Linked DNA regions of Homo sapiens: all the other regions are linked to region 4. The links are contacts of gene promoters, found by promoter capture Hi-C in blood cells and fetal thymus (Javierre and others, 2016). All regions are on one chromosome and are shown on one strand. Each heading gives the region's core, a stretch centred on a gene start or on the middle of the fragment in contact. The rest is flanking DNA. Distances are from core to core; before and after follow the strand shown.

The links. The method cuts DNA at HindIII sites, captures the fragments that hold promoters and counts their contacts. A CHiCAGO score of 5 or more calls a contact.
Region 1: a fragment that was not itself captured here is called in contact with the fragment with the promoter of AAMP in region 4 in 2 of 17 cell types (total CD8 T cells and total B cells); the score reaches 6.0 in total CD8 T cells.
Region 2: a contact is called between a fragment that was not itself captured here and the fragment with the promoter of AAMP in region 4, in 3 of 17 cell types (total B cells, total CD8 T cells and total CD4 T cells). The highest score is 5.6, in total B cells.
Region 3: a fragment that was not itself captured here is called in contact with the fragment with the promoter of AAMP in region 4 in 8 of 17 cell types (naive CD8 T cells, total CD8 T cells, non-activated CD4 T cells and 5 more); the score reaches 10.5 in naive CD8 T cells.
Region 5: a contact is called between a fragment that was not itself captured here and the fragment with the promoter of AAMP in region 4, in 9 of 17 cell types (naive CD4 T cells, total CD4 T cells, total CD8 T cells and 6 more). The highest score is 12.5, in naive CD4 T cells.

What each region holds. Positions count from the first base shown.
Region 1 is chr2:218,868,233-218,871,719 of GRCh38, reverse strand. It overlaps WNT6 (Wnt family member 6), which reads right to left. Exons shown (of 4, transcript NM_006522.4): 2 at 473-693; 3 at 1-235. Among named protein-coding and RNA genes, the nearest start is that of WNT6, 10 kb to the right of the region's middle. RefSeq lists an enhancer at 1-65 and a silencer at 144-213. The HindIII fragment of the contact is 4,184 bases long and covers 1-3,487 here.
Region 2 is chr2:218,904,059-218,907,616 of GRCh38, reverse strand. LINC01494 (long intergenic non-protein coding RNA 1494) reads left to right here. Exons shown (of 5, transcript NR_110238.1): 4 at 571-778. Among named protein-coding and RNA genes, the nearest start is that of LINC01494, 25 kb to the left of the region's middle. The HindIII fragment of the contact is 1,982 bases long and covers 460-2,441 here.
Region 3 is chr2:218,886,751-218,890,320 of GRCh38, reverse strand. WNT10A (Wnt family member 10A) reads right to left here. Exons shown (of 4, transcript NM_025216.3): 3 at 1-337. Among named protein-coding and RNA genes, the nearest start is that of WNT10A, 7.7 kb to the right of the region's middle. RefSeq lists a silencer at 3,419-3,538. The HindIII fragment of the contact is 4,739 bases long and covers 1-3,570 here.
Region 4 is chr2:218,268,720-218,272,272 of GRCh38, reverse strand. AAMP (angio associated migratory cell protein) reads left to right here and starts at 2,136. Exons shown (of 11, transcript NM_001087.5): 1 at 2,136-2,307; 2 at 2,739-2,891. The coding sequence starts at 2,187. It overlaps PNKD (PNKD metallo-beta-lactamase domain containing), which reads right to left and starts at 1,754. Exons shown (of 10, transcript NM_015488.5): 1 at 1,671-1,754; 2 at 724-892. The coding sequence starts at 1,737. RefSeq lists enhancers at 1,460-1,509, 1,540-1,919, 2,070-2,389, 2,958-3,553. The HindIII fragment of the contact is 1,112 bases long and covers 1,136-2,247 here.
Region 5 is chr2:219,248,881-219,252,604 of GRCh38, reverse strand. STK16 (serine/threonine kinase 16) reads right to left here. Exons shown (of 8, transcript NM_001330213.2): 8 at 2,268-3,724. It overlaps TUBA4A (tubulin alpha 4a), which reads left to right. Exons shown (of 4, transcript NM_006000.3): 2 at 375-597; 3 at 892-1,040; 4 at 1,282-2,895. The coding sequence ends at 2,253. Among named protein-coding and RNA genes, the nearest start is that of TUBA4B, 2.5 kb to the left of the region's middle. RefSeq lists enhancers at 2,373-2,492, 2,533-2,622. The HindIII fragment of the contact is 2,112 bases long and covers 649-2,760 here.

The sequences.
Region 1 (3,487 bases), core at 401-2,900, 600 kb before region 4:
CCGAAGTCCACGTCGTCGCCGCAGCCTCCCCACTCCCAGGCGGCGCTGCCTTCCGGGGAGCCCGCGGGGCCAGGGGGTCCGGGGGTGCCGGGCAGGCCGGAGGGCCGGGGAGGGGCCCGCCCGCGGGGCGCCTGGCAGCCGCACTGCAGCAGCTCGCCCATAGAACAGGCCTGCGTGACGGCGTGGCTGGCGCCGGCCGCAGTGATGGCGAACACGAAGGCCGTCTCCCGAATGTCTGTGAATGCAGACAGGTGCAATCAGCGCGGGCTGGGGCGGTCAGCTGGGGCCTGGGACCTGAAACCTGCGGCGGGAGGGCTGCCCCAGGGGCCTGGGAGGCAGGGTCCTTGCAGGGTGCCCAGACACATGTGAGGGGGAAGTGGGGCTCAGGCAACTTCAGCGAACCAGTTCTCCTCTCCTCGGGTCCCACAGCAGGGAGAAAGCAGCCCCACTTCCGCCCCCTCCCCACACTGACCCTGTTGCAGGATGCGTCCAAAGGCCTTGCTGTGGCTGGAGCAATTCCAGCGGCGGAAGCGGAACTGGAACTGGCACTCTCGCACCCCGAGCCGGGCGCCCCGAGCTAGCTCTGCCACCACTTCCGGCTCAGCCTGGCACAACTCGGCCTGCCGCCCGGCCAGCCGCCGTGCCTTCCTGCAGATGCTGGTAGGGTCCATAACCAAGGGGCTGCCCACAGCCCTGGAAAGCAGAGAATAGCAGGTCAGGGGTGTAACCCAAAAAAGGGCTTGGGGTGGAAGGGAGGAGGACCAGCCCCACTCAGCCCGCAGCGGGAGCTGTGACATGCCCTCCCACCCTACCTCCAAACTGAGCTTGAGATTGTCCTGTCTGGCTCTCCTGCTAGTCCATGTCTGTGTCCCCTCTAACTAGAGTCTAGTCTGATAATTGCTACAGAGCAAAGATTCAATCTTATCTTCCTGCACACATCTTTGTAAATAAATTCTTATAGAAATTTTACTCAAGGTGAAGGCAGCTGGCATCAGGTAAGTCAAAGTTAAAACTCAAACTTCTAGCCCAAAAGGGTGACAAGGAAAAGAAATAACAGAAGAAAGATCAAGAAGGCCGTCAAGGAAATTCATGTGTCGTCAAGAGACACCAAAGAAAAGTAAGCAGTATCAAGGAATGATATGGTCCTAGTGGACCACAAGCTGGATATGTGTCAGCTGAACAGCCCGGATGAAAGGCAAGAACAATCCCAGGGAGAGAGAATGCCACGAGATGTTGGAACGGCTAGGGAATGGAGCCTAGCTGAGAAAAGTCACACCCTCTCCATAGCCCAGGTTTCTCCTTCTATAAAATGGGTGTGTTGGGCTTTCATCTCTAAGGTGGGCCCTCCTACCCTGATATCTTCTATGTCCCTGAACTGGAGAGCAGGAAGAAGGAGCTGGGGGCCAGGTCTCTGAAGCATTGTTGGAAAGTAGGTGACACTGACCCTTCTCTTGCTCCAGGATCTGTGGTTTTCGTTCTTTTTTTTTTTTTTTTTAATTGAGATGGAGTCTTGCTCTGTCACCCAGGCTGGAGTGCAGTGGCGGGCTCCCAGCTCACTGCAACCTCCACTGCCCAGGTTCAAGCGATTCTCATGCCTCAGCCTCCCAAATAGCTAGGACTACAGGTGTGCACCACCAGGCCTGGCTAATTTTTTTGTACTTTTAGTAGAGACAAGTTTCACCATGTTGGCCAAGCTGGTCTCAAACTCCTGACTTCAGGTGATCTGCCTGCCTCGGCTTCCCAAAGTGCTGGGATTACAGGCATGAGCCACCACACATGGCCAAGGATCTGTTGCCTTCTCTGAGCAGAATGGCAGTGAACCAAGCCCTGCGCATTAGGGTGACATCACTGCTGGGTGCAGGCAATATTTGGCTTGGTAGGGGAAGACTTCACGGGAAGTCTCACGCACTTCCAGAAATCCCTCAACTCCTGGCCTTCGTTCTGCCCAAGGAGAGAGCTGACATTTGGTTTTGGTATACCAGACCCCTGAAGGTTAATTCCTTAGGGATTCATACCTGGGGGAACTGCTCTCATCAGAATGCTCCTATTTGAACACTTAGCTGGGATTCCCATCTCAAATGAATGAGTAGAGCATCTGGGAGCAGAGGGTAATTAGAGACCACCCAAAAGCTCTTCAGCAGAGGACAGGGTGGGGGTAGGGGTCCCAGGAGAGAGAAAACATAGAGAATGGTGGTAGGTGGTGCCAGAGGTCAAGGTGGCCTACTTTTCAGTTTTGCTTTAGTGCATATCCGCCCCACTGTCCCCATTTGCTCCACAAGTACAGGCTGCCCAGGAATGTTCTGGCTCCACAACAATGAAATGTGATGGTCTTAAATAGAAGCAAGAGGAATTTAGGTCTTAAGGTAGAACTCTCAACACTAAGGATGGAGATGCTTGAAGAGGTGGTACAGGAAGATGTGTAGTAAGCTCAGTCCTTTATGGTCTACAACACAAACACGTGTGTGTGCACGTGCATTCTCATGCGTGCACGCATGCGCACGCACACACACAAAATCAAGTTGCTGCCGTCATCCGTACCCAAGTAGCTCAGGAATCAGATGTCTCTCAATGGAGAGGCCACAGTCCACATCTTCCTTCCTGCGTGCTTAAGACCAGCCCAGCACTGGCCCCCACCCTTTCCCAGCCTAGATAAGTAAAGCAATGGAGGGTGGGTCAGGGCACCCCAATGACCCAGTGACTTTTGAGAGCTGATCGGTCTCTATTGATCCATCAATCTATCTGTCCCTCCTCTGCCCATATATCCCACCTCATTATAAGAAGGATTGGAGGCAGCTTCCAACATGGCTGTGCAGGGTCAGGAGATAAGACTATGAGCTTCTTGAGCATTAAGACTGCCTTATTTTCCTTTGCATCTCCTGGAAGACTTAGGTACTTAGTTTATATCCTCCCCCAACCCCAATTTTCATTACAAAAAATTGCATAGTATGAATTCTGTGTCACATGTAATACCTGTAGTATATTATACAATGAACACCATCTAATATGTGGTTTTGAATGAGTAAATAAGCCATCTAAGAGAAAGTTCTCACTTGAGCCCAGGCCCCTGTCCACATCTTATTTCATGACTCCTAATTCATTTCCTCAAACATGCTCTTTTCCCCCACTGGGAATCAGGCAGGGAATGAGTCCTCTCTGCAGTCGTCCAGCCCCTTATGTCTGGGGCTCCACCTGTGAGTCGGGGGCTCTGCAAGCTCATCTTCCCCACCCCCACTTCCCTTACTTCTAAGTTCCCCAGTCCCTCCTCCTCAACCCTGCCCTCTGCTAACTCCCTAGTTTCCCAGGGTTGCCTGGCCTTATCTTCCCAAGGTTACTCTGCCCCATCCTTCTCCTCTCCCTCCTCCTCCCTTAAGAAGGCAGGAGGGAGTGGAGATGAGCAAGACAGAAAGACAAAAACCTCTTGACCTTCTCTGTTTCGCAGGGACTAGAGACGGGAGAATCACGAGGAGTATGGAGGCCAGGGACTTTC
Region 2 (3,558 bases), core at 201-2,700, 640 kb before region 4:
ACCATTCTCCTGTCTCAGCCTCCCGAGTAGCTGGAACTACAGGCGCCCGCCACCACGCCCGGCTAATTTTTTGTATTTTTAGTAGAGATGGGGTTGCACCGTGTTAGCCAGGATGGTCTCGATCTCCTGACCTCGTGATCCACCCGCCTTGGCCTCCCAAAGTGCTGGGATTACAGCCACCACACCCAGACTTAACTTGTTATTGAAGTAACGTACAGAAAAATACACAAATCCTATGTGCACTTAACTTTTAACACAATGAACAAAGTAGTGTAATCAGGTCCCTGAGGAAGAAACAAATCATTACCAGCTCCCCAAACCCTTCTCCTGTTTCCCTCTATTCACTGCATCTCCTACAGGGATAACCACTATCATGCCTTTTTATTTCATTTTATTTATTTTATTTTATTTTATTTATTTTATTTTTTGGAGATGGGGTCTCACTTTGTCACCCAAGCTTAAGTGCAGTGGCATGATCATAGCTCACTGTAGCTTCGACCTCCTGGGTTGGGATTACAGGCCACTATCCTGCCTTCCAACTGCATAAGTTAACTTTGCCTGTTTTTGCAGCTGCCACTGGGATCATACAGTGTGCTCTCATCTGGAACTTCCCACATCTCCACGTGCCCTCACCTTCAGTGAGAGTCTGAGAAGAAGCCGGGTGGGGTTGCTGCCCACATGGTCGGGGCTGCTGCCAATGCCACTCATCTCACCGTCACTTGCTGCCTCTCTGCCTGCCCCCTGGTCCATGGTTCTCTGACATCTCTCTCTCCTTGAGGTGGGGAAGCATGTTCTGTTTCTCATTCTCAGCTCTTTCATAAGGAGTTCCCACAGCAGAGATGTCTGTGCCCTAGCGAGCCCGTTCTTGCCCTATACCCCAAATGTTTCCCTTTCCACCAGGAAGGCCCTGAGGCCTGAGGGAGTGAGGGTAGAGGTGCACCAAGCCCCAGTGGTCATGCCCAGCCTCACAACATTCCAAATAGCACTCCTCCCTCTGCCCTGTTCGGCGGACCCCTTCCCTGTCCAGTGAAACCTTTTTCTCACTCAGGGTGATGAGCTCTCCGGCCTCTGTTGTTCCTCCCCTGCAGTCTGCCATCCACTACAGACCCCCAGCCCACCAGACACTGGGGAACCCCAACTGTGGCCATGGTTTACTTCCTCTTCCAAGGATTTCTGATGCCATGCCGGTTAAGGGACATGGCTTAAGGGTCTAGGTATGTTACATATGAGGAGAGTAAGGCTCAGAGAAATTTAAGGAATTTTCCAAAACCATATAATTTATAAGTGATGAGAATTAGACCTCAGAAGTGCCATTTGATGCCAGGCTAGAAGGCTAAGTGTCTGCTAAAGGCCACCATTCAGTGAGACTAAAATGGGTGAGACGTCTAGGTACTTTACATATATTACATCTAGTCCTCAAAACAACTTCAGCAGATGAGTGTTTTTATTTCAATATAGCAGATACAGAAACTGAGGTCCAGAGAACTTAATGACTTTGCCTTAGGTCACAGGGATAGTGAGAGACTAAACTAGGATTCAATCCCTCCCGCCGCACAGGCTGACCCCAAAGCCTGGCTCTTTCCTCTGCACTGTGCCATGCTCACTGGAAGGATTTTGACAAGAGCAGATATGAGTGGACATGGAGCTAAGGCAGGACAGTTGGGGTACATTCCAGAGAGAGGGAAACATGGACCACAGAGGGGCTGTTTCCATTTTCTATTACTGAGTAACAAACCGCTCCAAAATTCAGTGGCTTAAAAATAACCATTTACATCCCACAGTCCTGTGGGTTGACTACAGTCAGCTGGGCAGTTCTCACGTGGGGTCTCTCAAGCAGTTCAGTTAGATGGTGGCTAAGGCTGGAGTCATCTGAAGGCTCAACTCGGCTGGATATCCAAGATGACTTTTTAAAAATTTATTTATTTATTTATTTATTTTTGAAGACACAGCCTCACTTCGTCACCCAGGCTGGACTGTAGTGGCGCAATCTCACTCACTGCAACCTCCACCTCCCAGGTTCAAGTGATTCTCATGCCTCAGCCTCCCGAGAAGCTGGGACTACAGGCATGTGCCACTATGTCTGGCTAATTTTTTGTATTTTTAGTAGAGATGGGGTTTCGCCATGTTGGCCAGGATGGTCTTGAACTCCTGGCCTCAAGTTATCCGCCTGCCTCGGCCTCCCAAAGTGCTGAGATTACAGGTGTGAACCACTGAGCCCAGCCCCAAGATGACTTTTTAAAGTCACATGTCTGGCACCTCATCTGAATTGGCTGGAACTGAAGGGGCCTGCCCAGGCATTACTCTCTCTATACAGCCTTCCCATGTGGCTTGTTTCGGGTTCCTCATAGCATGGTAGTCTCTGGGTAGACAGACCTCATACACGGTGATTGGCTTGCCCCAGAGTGAACATTCCGAGCGACTGAGGCAAAAACTGCAAAGCTTCCTATTCCCTCTCTTCAGCAGTCATGCAGCTTCGCTTCCACAGCACACTCAGTGAAAAGGAAGCATGGACTGGCCCTTTCAAGGGGAGGGGACAATACACAGGTGTGAAGCATGATTCAAGGCGGACCACCTTTGGGGCCCAGCTATTACAGGGGCTGAGGCAGGAAAGGACTGCTCAGGGAACTGCACACAGTCATGCTTCAGTGGAACATGGTGTGGAAGTGAGAAAAAACTGGAGATGATCGTTTGTGGCATATGGTGGAGGGCTTCAATGCTCAGGAACCTGCATATGGATACACACTGGAGTCTTTAGCTGCCCAGCATCTGAGCCCCCTTCATATGTTGGTGGAGCCTCCCTAATGTGAGTCTTAGTGAGAAGTCAGATACTTGCTCACCTGGCCCCTAGCAGGAAGATCACAGCCAAATCAATGCTCCCAGTCAGGACTCTAAATCTTCAACAAGTGACCCAAGGAGGAAGAGGACTGTTTATAATTCATCCCAGAGGTGGCAGCAGCAAGTGCTCAGGGTGGTGGTAGCCATGTGGGAAGCAGCCCCCAAGCCCCTTAATCAGGCTGCACTTGGGACAGGATTTAGCTAAAGTTCTAGCTGCCTAGCTTCTCTTGGCTCCTGCTTGCTTCCTGAGCCTGATTCTTGAGGCTTCCTGTCAATTCTTTGAGTTCCCTGATGTCATCCCAGTAAATTCCTCTTCTACTAAGTGAACCAGAGTCTGTTTCTGTTGTTTGCAATTAAGAACCCAAATTGGTACAAAGATCCATTGAGAGCTTTAGTCAGAGGAAATGACATGATCAGAGCACTTCGTGGGAGAGAAAAACAGAACAATAGGATAGGGATGGATTGAAGAGGAAGAAAGAGGAATGACAGAGGCTAGTTGGAAGGTCGTTGTGATGTTTGAGGTGTGTGGTGAACTAGGATATTGACCATGTGAATGAAGTGGAAGAATAAGCAGATCTTGGCCACTGATTGAATATAGAAAGGAGAAGAGAAGGTGAGAGTCCAAGTTTACACCAGTTTTGAGGTTCAGTGACTAAGAAAATGATGATGTGACAAAGAGAAACAAGCAAGTTAAGGAGAACTGGTTTGGAGGGGAAAGTCATT
Region 3 (3,570 bases), core at 282-2,781, 620 kb before region 4:
ATGTCTCTGTGAGGCTCCCGGGAGTCCAGAAAGTCCTTAGAAAAGCGCTCCCCGAAGCCCATGTCGGGGCTGCAGCCGCCCCACTCCCAGGAGTCCTGCAGGCCTGGGCTGGCTGTGGGCAGGGCTGGGTGTTCCGGGACCCCATGGCTCAGGCCCTTACCACGCTGCAGTGCATCCAGTTGTAAGCGGTGCAGCTTCCTACGGAAGGCCTCCTCGTCCCCTCGCCGGGACGCATCACAGCCACAGGCCTTCAGTTTGCCCAGGGCACACGCATTGGACACGGCGTGCACCACGCCAGCTGCTGCGATGGCGTAGGCAAAAGCGCTCTCTCGGAAACCTGTGGTTAAAGACCCAGAACACATGGACTCTGGAGGGGCCTTGACACCCCATTCTCCAGCCCACCTTTCTCATCATTCCAAGGAGAAACTGAAGCCCAGTATGCAGGAGAGTCTGGCACAAGGAAACAGAGTCAAAGAAGGGCAGAAATCACGCCAGAAGCCAGTTCTTCTGCAAACAGAACCTGGTGGGGTGGGAGGGAGGCTTCCCAATAGCCCTCTGCTTTTTGTACGCCCTTCTCCTGTTCTTTAACATCACCTTTAGCAAACTCAGAATTTGTGTGTCTACATCTCTACTGTAGAGCAGAAAGTATCAGGTAAACACATTCTTTTTACAATCAGGGACTTAATCTATTACCTCTCACAGTGGTATCTGCAATTTTAAAATAAGCCCACAGAATGAGGGCAACATTTAAGCTAAAGAATTCATTGCCAGTGATGTTGCTGGTGGGAATGTAAACTAGTACAACCACTATGGAAAACAGTGTGGAGATTCCTCAAAGAACTAAAAGTAGAACTACCATTTGATCCAGTAATCCCACTACTGGGTATCTACCCAGAGGAAAAGAAGTCATTATACGAAAAAGATACTTGCACACGCATGTTTACAGCAGTACAATTTGTAATTGCAAAAATATGGTACCAGCCCAAATGCCCATCAACCAACAAGTGGATAAAGAAATTGCAGTATAAATATGCCATGGAATACTCCTCAGCCATAAAAAGGAACAAAATAATGGCATTCACAGCAACCTGGATGGAATTTGAGACTATTATTCTAAGTGAAGTAACTCAGGAATGGAAAACCAAACATCGTATGTTCTCACTTATAAGTGGAAGCTAAGCCATGAGGATGCAAAGGCATAAGAATGACACAATGGACTTTGGGGACTTGGGGAAAGGTTGGGTGTGAGGTGACAGATCAAAGACTACACATTGGGTGCAGTGTACACTGCTTGGGTGATGGGTGCACCAAAATCTCAGAAATCACCACGAAAGAACTTATTCATGTAACCAAACACCATCTGTTCCCCAGAAACCTATTGAAATAAATAAATAAATAAATAAAATGATATTTCATAAAATAAAATGTACACAATTTTGGAAAAAAAGAGAATAAATTGTCAATGATGAAATTCCAGGCCTTAGGAGATGTCAGTGGGCAGCAGAGTAAGTAAGAGGAGACGGTCAGCTCCTAATGCTCCCTGCCCCAAGATAGCCTGCTGGGTGCGTGCCCATCTTAGGCACAGCATAGGATCCTCCCTAATGACCAGACTCCAGAGGCAAAGAAATGGGTCACCAGAGCTTCCCCTTGCTTGTCCACAGGACATCCCTGAAAGCCACTCAGAAATGGGCGCTACCCAGCCACCTTGCCTGTGACCCACCCAGGTCAGCTGCAGAGGCTGTTGGAGGTACGCTAGAGGGAAGCCCAGGGTCCTGCATGGGGTCTGGCATGTAGTAGTGTTGAACATGGAGAAGGAAGGGCAAGCTGAGGCAGATACCTTCCACCAGATGTTCAGGAGGCACAGATTTTCCCTGACCAAGCCACTCTTGGGGGCCGCGGCTAGGCCGGCCTGGCCACTGGCTTGTCCACACTGCCTTCCTTCTTGGTGCTCCAACCTGAGCCATTCTCTGGGAACACCTGGACCTGTGGCAGGGGGAGGCCTACTTGCAAAGGAGGGTCCCATTCTCAGACATGCAAGCTATCTTTTGCTTATTCTGCATCTGAGAATGGACCAGCTAGGAACAAGTTCTGGTACAAGTCTCCAACCAGCCTCCGCACACCAGAGAGGGGGCAGGCAGCAAGAGAAGCCAGAGGCCTGGGCCAATCCCACCTTAATCCTCACCCACTGCATCACAGAGCCCTGTCCTCCCCTTCCTGCCAAAACAAACAAAAAAACCAAAACCAAAAACAACCAACAAACAAAAAATAACAGAAAGAAACAGAACAAGCTGTTTAGTAGTTAAGAACTAATTCCTGAAACCAGTTTACTTCAAATCTTGGCTCTTCCACTTACTAGCTGCTAATAGCTATGTGACCTTGGCCAAGTGACTTAACCTCCCTGTGCCTCAGTTTCCTTACCTATAAAATAGAGCTATTATCTGCCTCATTGTTGTTCCAAGAATTAAATGAACTGGTAAATTTAAAGTGCTTAGAATAGTGCCTTACTAATCGAGGAAGTATTACTCAAACATTAGCTATTATTGAGAAGTTCTTTCTGCTATCTGACCTCACTCACTCCTGCTGCATTTTTTGGGCCATTGTTTTTTGTTTCACCCTGATCAGGGACAAAGCCCAGCAGCTCATGACCCACTTTAGAATAGGTCACTTGGGCCACCAGATGCCTATGAAGCAGACTGTCCCTCTCTCTTTCCATCTCATGGCATCTCAGTACATTTTTGCATAAGGAGCTCAGCTATGAGCAGAGAAGAGGGGCTGGGGATGGGGCTGGAACCTTCTATGGGGATGCTGGGAATTAGCAGGAGCTGCAGAGGAGTAGAAACTGCCCTGGGGAAGTGGAACCTAAGGGGAAGGAGGATGGAACCAAGCTCCTGGGAAGCACATCCTGCATTTATCCCTTGCCTTTTATCTGTGGAACTTTGAGCATTTCTCTTATTGCCGGGGAGTCATCAGCCTGCTCCTAGGACACAATGGCAATACTCAGACCTCCAGAGGCAGCCCAGGTCTCAGAAATCACCCACACACACACACTGCCACCACTACCAAACACATACACATTATGCAAAAGGAGAAAACACAGGTCACAGAAGTTATGGAGCTGCATCCAGACCCAGCTCTCCCAGCTCCCAGGTCTGGCATCTTTCTATTGTAGGACATGTGACTCAAAGGGAGTCCTGCTGCTGCGAAAGAAACCCAGGTAGCTCAGTTTCTAGTTCCTATCGACTTGTCTGTGCATGGCACCAGGAAAGAGGATGAGGCTGGTCCAGGGATGTGTACAGTGCCAACCACCATCTTCTAGGCCCTGTCACATTTAAGGGTAAGCCTGGGGAAACTGGAGAAACGTACCCCACCGCGGCAGAGAACACCCCTACCCCATGCAGCTAAAGACACCTTCCCTACACCACCCTGTGGCCTCTGACAGCTGTCATAGCCACGTGCAGAGGTGACAAGGCAGGGCCTGTGTGGCCACCCTCTGCTGCAAGTATCCAGGCCTCATAGAAGCCCAGCCCACTGGGTCTGCACCCAGCTCCTGTTCAGGGCCCCAGTTTCGGT
Region 4 (3,553 bases), core at 887-3,386:
ACGAGCCCTGCATTCCTGCAACAGCACCTGTGCAGGATTTTCCAGGCAGCCCTGACGCTTTCCCTCTCTGAGACTTGGCCAAGGTACCCTCCCAGTTTTCCCCTCTTAAGCTAAGTAACCACTGCTTGGGAGGCACTTTGGTATGGGGGAAAGAGCATGGAGTCACAGACTAGGTGAGAATCCTAGCTCAGTCTCAGTTCCTTCCTCTGTGAAATGGGGATGTAATACTTATCTCAAACACTAAAACATTACATGGCAAAGTACTGGCACACCTCACATGCAGAAAAAAATGTTGATTTCTTCCTCCTTTCTCTTTAATATTGGTCAATAATATGTATTAAGGTCAGAGTCAGAGCCCAATCACAATGTTCATAACGCCTTCTGAGTACTACTATACAACTAGTACAAGCTCACATGATCTCAACGAACTACTTACTTAAACTTGGGTCTCACTCCAAGCTCCCAAAAGGGAGGATGAGGCCAGGGACCCAAGTCTGAATCAGATCAACTCAGCTTACTCCACAGTAAACCCACTGTCTTCTCAATTCCACATACTTTCCCACCTCCACTGCCCCACCCCTCTGAGATTCCAATCGAACCCAACAATTCTGTTCCCACAACTTTGGATTCAGCTCGCCACCTGAAACTTGGAGAAGTTTCTAAGTCCTGCCCTCCCCTACAAGCCACGCCCCGTTGGTGGGCAAAGGGGTGGTTAAAACTCACCAGGCCAGTCCCACAGCTTTCATGGGGTTCTTGCCCCTCTTTCTGGGAATGTATTCCAGCTCCGGGGATAGGGGTTCAGGTTCCTCCTTGCCCTCTGGGGAGCTGTGGCTTTGCAGGGCCCGGGTCCTGTTATGAGAAGCCTTGTTAGCTGTGGCTCCTGCGAGAATCCCTGTGGATGGAGGTAAGGAAGGTCAGTAAGAAGAGATGAGAAGAAAGCAAGCGGGGAGGTGGGGGGCAGTAAGGGCTTGGGAGGAGCGGCTGAGATCTGGGGAAGGGGAGTGACTGCAGTCTGAAGTAAGAAGTGCCAAGGAGAATCCAAAGGGAAATGGGAAAATCGCCACCGAGGTGGCACCTTTGGAAGCCACTTCCACGTCACTGCGGGCTCATCACCCTGGTGCCAGGACGAAAAGCTTCGCTGTTCTTCCTCAGACGACAGCATGGGAAGGACTGCAGTGGGACTCACATAAGACGTATGAAGGAAATCCGGGAAAAGGTTTTGAAACTGCAAATGTTAGCACTGGAAGGGACCTTAAAGATAGTCTACTCCATCCCTTGCACTGTACGGAAGAGGAAACTGAAGCCCTGAGAGAAAAACTGCTTTGCCCAAGGTCAAACTGCTAATTATCCGGGGCTGGAACTCAAACCTCCAGAAGCCCGGGGCTCTTTCCTCTGCACTGCGGTGAGTGTGAAACACCTGGAGCGCGGGAGTCCAACAGGCTTCCTAGGAGCTCCCTCTTGCAGCAAGACCCCGGAGGTGTCGAGCAACCCGAAGGCGGGGGGATGCACTGGGTGACCTCTAAAGAGCATCTCTGCACCCCCAGACTCTAAGATCTTGCAGAAAAGTGTGGGGAGGAACCAAGAGCCCTGACCTCCTGCTATCGTCGGGCTGGACGTGAAAGAAAAGGGATCTTCTGCAGTCCTGCCCTCCCCGGGGTCCCTCTCCTTACCCCGGAGGACGCGGGCATTTCTCGCCCCCCGGCCCTTCAGCGCCGTAGCAGCTACCACCGCCGCCATGTTCAGATCCCACCCCCGCTTCACCGCGCTCCCCGCCGGGAATTGTAGTTTGCGTAAGGGGCCTCCCCCGCTCCTTCCGTCCTGCCTACAGACCAGAAACTACATCTCCCAGAAGCCCGCAGAGCGGACCCAGGAGAACTACTCTTCCCAGGAGACCCCGGAGGCGCGCGCGCTCGCTTGTTTCCCTCCAGTTGGGGGCGGAGTCAGGTGGGGCGGAGTTTGGGTTCTCTCCGCCACGCCCCGGCCCCATCTTCCAATGCCGCTCTGTGATTGGTGAGGCGGCCAGCCAACCTTCGTAGCTATTGGCCGAACGGCCGTCGCTCTTCCTGCTGGGGAGTCGCCTACGCCTACTTCCTGCCGGGAGGAGGGGCTCGAGTTCCGCGTCGTCGCGCAGAGCTGACTCTGGGAGGCGTTTGGGCCCAGAGAAGTGGATCCGCCGCTTGCGCCGCATGGAGTCCGAATCGGAAAGCGGGGCTGCTGCTGACACCCCCCCACTGGAGACCCTAAGCTTCCATGGTGATGAAGAGATTATCGAGGTGGTAGAACTTGATCCCGGTCCGCCGGACCCAGGTGAGAACTGCCGCTCCTCAGGCCATGGGACAGGAGACGCTCACCCCTGGCCTCTGACTCCTGCTTTTCCCCGCTCCCCTCCACACCCGACTGGTCATTCCTACCGATATCCCTCTTCCCCTCCTCCCCCACTCCCACCCTCACACTTAGTTCTCAGGCCTGGCTGGGGTGGGGGTTCCCTGACGCCTCCTCTGGCCCTTCCCCTCACACACCCCCTTCCCATCATCCCCTTGGCCCTCCCTTACCGCACGGTCTCTGGCCAGCCGTGGCCTCCCGTCCTGTGTCCCGCGCGCCCCCGCGGACCCCGGTGTGTCTGACTCCACCTTCCCTTCTCGCCACATGACCCGCCCCAGCCTCAGGCCTCCTCATGCTTCTCTCCGTACCTCTTACCGCCTCCCGAGCCCCATCTTCTAACCCTCTCCCCAAAGCAGATGACCTGGCCCAGGAGATGGAAGATGTGGACTTTGAGGAAGAAGAGGAGGAAGAGGGCAACGAAGAGGGCTGGGTTCTAGAACCCCAGGAAGGGGTGGTCGGCAGCATGGAGGGCCCCGACGATAGCGAGGTCACCTTTGCATTGCACTCAGGTAGGTCTTTGAGGCGATCCACCTCAAATCAGTTTAGGTGGGCGTGTAAGCATTAAACATCAGCCATGGACAGAACGTTATGGGGGACACAGAGATGGGCAAGATGCTGGCCTTGCGCTGGAGGAGCCCACAGGTGGGAAAGTGTGGCAGAATGGATGATTGCTTGGCTTCTGGCATCAGTCGAGACACCCTCTACTTTGCCAGTTAACCTTGATTAACCTCTTAGTTTTCTTTTAAAAAGTTATCTTTGGCCGGGCGTGGTGGCTCACTCCTGAAATCCCAGCACTTTAGGAGGCTGAGGCAGGTGGATCACTTGAGGTCAGGAGTTCGAGACCAGCCTGGCCAACATGGCAAAACCCAGTCTCTACTAAAAATACAAAAATTTGGCTGGGCATGGTGGCTCACGCCTGTAATCCCAGCACTTTAGGAGGCCCAGGCAGGCGGATCACAAGGTCGGGAGTTCCAGACCAGCCTGGCCAATATGGTGAAACCCCGTCTCTACTAAAAATACAAAAATTAGCTGGGCGTGGTAGCGGGCGCCTGTAGTCCCAGCTCCTCGGGAGGTTGAGGCAGGAGAATTGCTTGAACCCGGGAGGCGGAGGTTGCAGTGGACCAAGACTGCGCCATTGCACTCCAGCCTGGGCAACAGAATGAGAGTCTGT
Region 5 (3,724 bases), core at 455-2,954, 980 kb before region 4:
AAAGGGTTCTATGAATTCTAGCTGTTCATACTCAAAGCAAATAATTAATCAAGTGGGGGGGGGGCCTCTAGCTGTAAACCCATACCTCTAGGAAACCTTTTGTCATGTGGAGCCACAGTGCTCACTTGACAGATTCCCCACTGAGAAGTGGGCTAAGAGGTTGGCCTGCATTGCTGGGTGCCTCCAGGTGGGGAGTCCTGTACCTGGGAGCCCGGGCAGGCTGCTACTCTCTTCTCACCTCTGCCCAGCCCCAACCCTCCACTCTTGCCAACTGAGTCATCCTAGCTGGTAGATGATAGGGTGGAAGAGAGACTCGCAAGGTGAGGACTTGTGGATGTGGGGCTCATGCTGTGTCCCCTCTCTCTATCCCTCAGCGTGAATGCATCTCAGTCCACGTGGGGCAGGCAGGTGTCCAGATGGGCAATGCCTGCTGGGAGCTCTATTGCTTGGAACATGGGATTCAGCCTGATGGGCAGATGCCCAGTGACAAGACCATTGGTGGAGGGGACGACTCCTTCACCACCTTCTTCTGTGAAACTGGTGCTGGAAAACACGTACCCCGGGCAGTTTTTGTGGATCTGGAGCCTACGGTCATTGGTGAGAGGAAGTGGGGACAAAATTGAAGGGGGTGGAGCATGACTCAAAGCTTCTCCCTGGAGAGAGAGGGTATTTAGACCAGGCATTCCTAGCCCTGAAAATTCCTAGCCGTACTTGAAGCTGCAGAAGGCAAGCTGATCTGAGACTGGCCTGGGCAGCTGGTCTGGGTTTCTCTCACACTCTGGTATCTCAGGCTGGCAGGAGGATGAGTCCTTCCATGCATCTGGCCACAGCTACCACCCTGGGGGAGGAAGGTCCCTGCTGAGCATAGCTTTGTGGTTTTTGCCCTTCCAGATGAGATCCGAAATGGCCCATACCGACAGCTCTTCCACCCAGAGCAGCTCATCACTGGGAAAGAGGATGCTGCCAACAACTATGCCCGTGGTCACTATACCATTGGCAAGGAGATCATTGACCCAGTGCTGGATCGGATCCGCAAGCTGGTGAGAGTGTGTCTTGGGAGGGAGGGAACTTTTGAGACTGTGCTAATGGTCAGGAATATTTTTTTTCAGATCCTTTCAGGAGGTCATCTCTAACTATACATGGTCTCGAGTGTGGTGCTGCTATGGCATCCTCAGTATTTGCCCTGACTGCTGATGTATCTTACGCTTTATGGAGCCAGGTGATAGAGTCCCTCAGGCCCCTCCCCTACCTAAACTGTTCTTTCTCGTTCTTGCCTTTCAGTCTGACCAGTGCACAGGACTTCAGGGCTTCCTGGTGTTCCACAGCTTTGGTGGGGGCACTGGCTCTGGCTTCACCTCACTCCTGATGGAGCGGCTCTCTGTTGACTATGGCAAGAAATCCAAGCTGGAATTCTCCATCTACCCAGCCCCCCAGGTGTCTACAGCCGTGGTCGAGCCCTACAACTCTATCCTGACCACCCACACCACCCTGGAGCACTCAGACTGTGCCTTCATGGTGGACAACGAAGCAATCTATGACATCTGCCGCCGCAACCTAGACATCGAGCGCCCAACCTACACCAACCTCAATCGCCTCATTAGCCAAATTGTCTCCTCCATCACAGCTTCTCTGCGCTTTGACGGGGCCCTCAATGTGGACCTGACAGAGTTCCAGACCAACCTGGTGCCCTACCCTCGCATCCACTTCCCCCTGGCCACCTATGCACCAGTCATCTCTGCAGAAAAGGCATACCACGAGCAGCTGTCGGTGGCAGAGATCACCAATGCCTGCTTTGAGCCTGCCAACCAGATGGTAAAGTGTGATCCCCGGCACGGCAAGTACATGGCCTGCTGCCTGCTGTACCGTGGAGATGTGGTGCCCAAGGATGTCAACGCTGCCATTGCCGCCATCAAGACCAAGCGCAGCATTCAGTTTGTGGACTGGTGCCCCACAGGCTTCAAGGTTGGTATCAACTACCAGCCTCCCACTGTGGTGCCTGGGGGTGACCTGGCCAAGGTGCAGCGTGCCGTGTGCATGCTGAGCAACACGACCGCCATCGCCGAGGCCTGGGCCCGCCTGGACCACAAGTTCGACCTGATGTATGCCAAGAGGGCGTTTGTGCACTGGTATGTGGGTGAGGGCATGGAGGAGGGTGAGTTCTCCGAGGCCCGTGAGGATATGGCTGCCCTGGAGAAGGATTATGAGGAGGTGGGCATCGACTCCTATGAGGACGAGGATGAGGGAGAAGAATAAAGCAGCTGCCTGGAGCCTATTCACTATGTTTATTGCAAAATCCTTTCGAAATAAACAGTTTCCTTGCACGGTTTCTTGTTCCCTCTGAGTGCTTGAGCTTCTGCTGCCTTCCCCTTCATGCTGCTGCTGCTCTGTTTGCTGTTCATGACCCTTATCCCTTCCATCGCTGAAGGTGAGACCTGCAAAGGGGTTCTTGCCAGGCCCAGGAAGCATAACCCCAGGGACTTTAAATTGAAGTCCTAGGGTTACTCAGTATAGGGAGGAAATGAGGACCAAAATCCAGGCACAAACTGTTGAAGGATGAGTCTTCAGCTCCTTTCCAAGTAGGAGTATAATCCAGTGGTTTCTGTCTTTGAAAGTTAGACTGCTACCCTGTTCTTCCTGCTGCCTCTACATTTACCAACTCTGGAAGCAAGGCTTGGCCCAGGCTCCTCTGTGCATTATGAGGGTTTGGGAGTGGGGCTGGGCTGGCCCAGAGTTCCTGGGCATGGAGCCACGTCATAAGCTTGGGGGATGGGAGGGAACACAGGCGATCTCCTAGAGTTGTTTGTGCCACTGCACCTCTGAGCAGCTTTGCATAGCTTCCTGTCTTGCTGCTTTGCTGGAGCTGGGGCTGTGCCATTAAAAGTCAGGTCATCTCCCCTCTGTTTGTGATTTCTTTCTGGCCTCAGCCTCTGTGCTAGCTAGTGGGAGACTCCTGCTAGGGCCCTGGGGAAAGCTTCAACTTTGCTAACAGGAGCCCCAGGCCCCATGCTGATGTCATACTGTGGGGTAGACATGGTTCGGGGGAGGAGGCTTGGATCACAAAAGAGCAGGAGATGCCAACCCTGCCCTTGCCTTTCCTCCCTGGTGATTCAGGGAACAGAGCCCTTCCCTAGGGAACAGGTTTGAAGCCCAGCTAAGACAGGGCCCCTGTTTACTCAGCAGAGTAGGCAGGAAGTGGCAGCTGGATACTGCCACACCACACTGCCTCATTAATCATTAACCATGTATGAGCTTGAACGATCAGGGAGACACAGGCCAAAACAGCTGCCGCTGCCACCTCCACTCCCCTCGCCCCTAGGCTGAGGATGGGAGACCTGTAATCTACCTGTCTCAAAGCTTCCTCAGGTGTCTCCACCCAGAGGCCCTTGCCTAGCAAACCGGCTAGGCAGCTTTGACTAAGCTACTCACCCCAGGAGTGAAGGAAGGAAAGAACTAGTTGAGTGTTTTTAGGGGGCCCTAGTTCTTGACACAGGCAGATGCCAGCTTGAGCCCAAGCAGCTTTAAGTTTTGATCTAAGACAAGCTAGAACTGTCCACTGCTAACCAACCTCCTGTAGAATGAAGTCACACCATTGCCGACTCTGCACCATTCCTCCTTCCCAGGCAGTTCGCCTGAAATGGCAACCTGACTTTGGGCCCCTTGCACCTCTTCTCTCACTCCAGGAACACTGAGACTAAGATCTACACCAACCTGCTTCCACTTTATT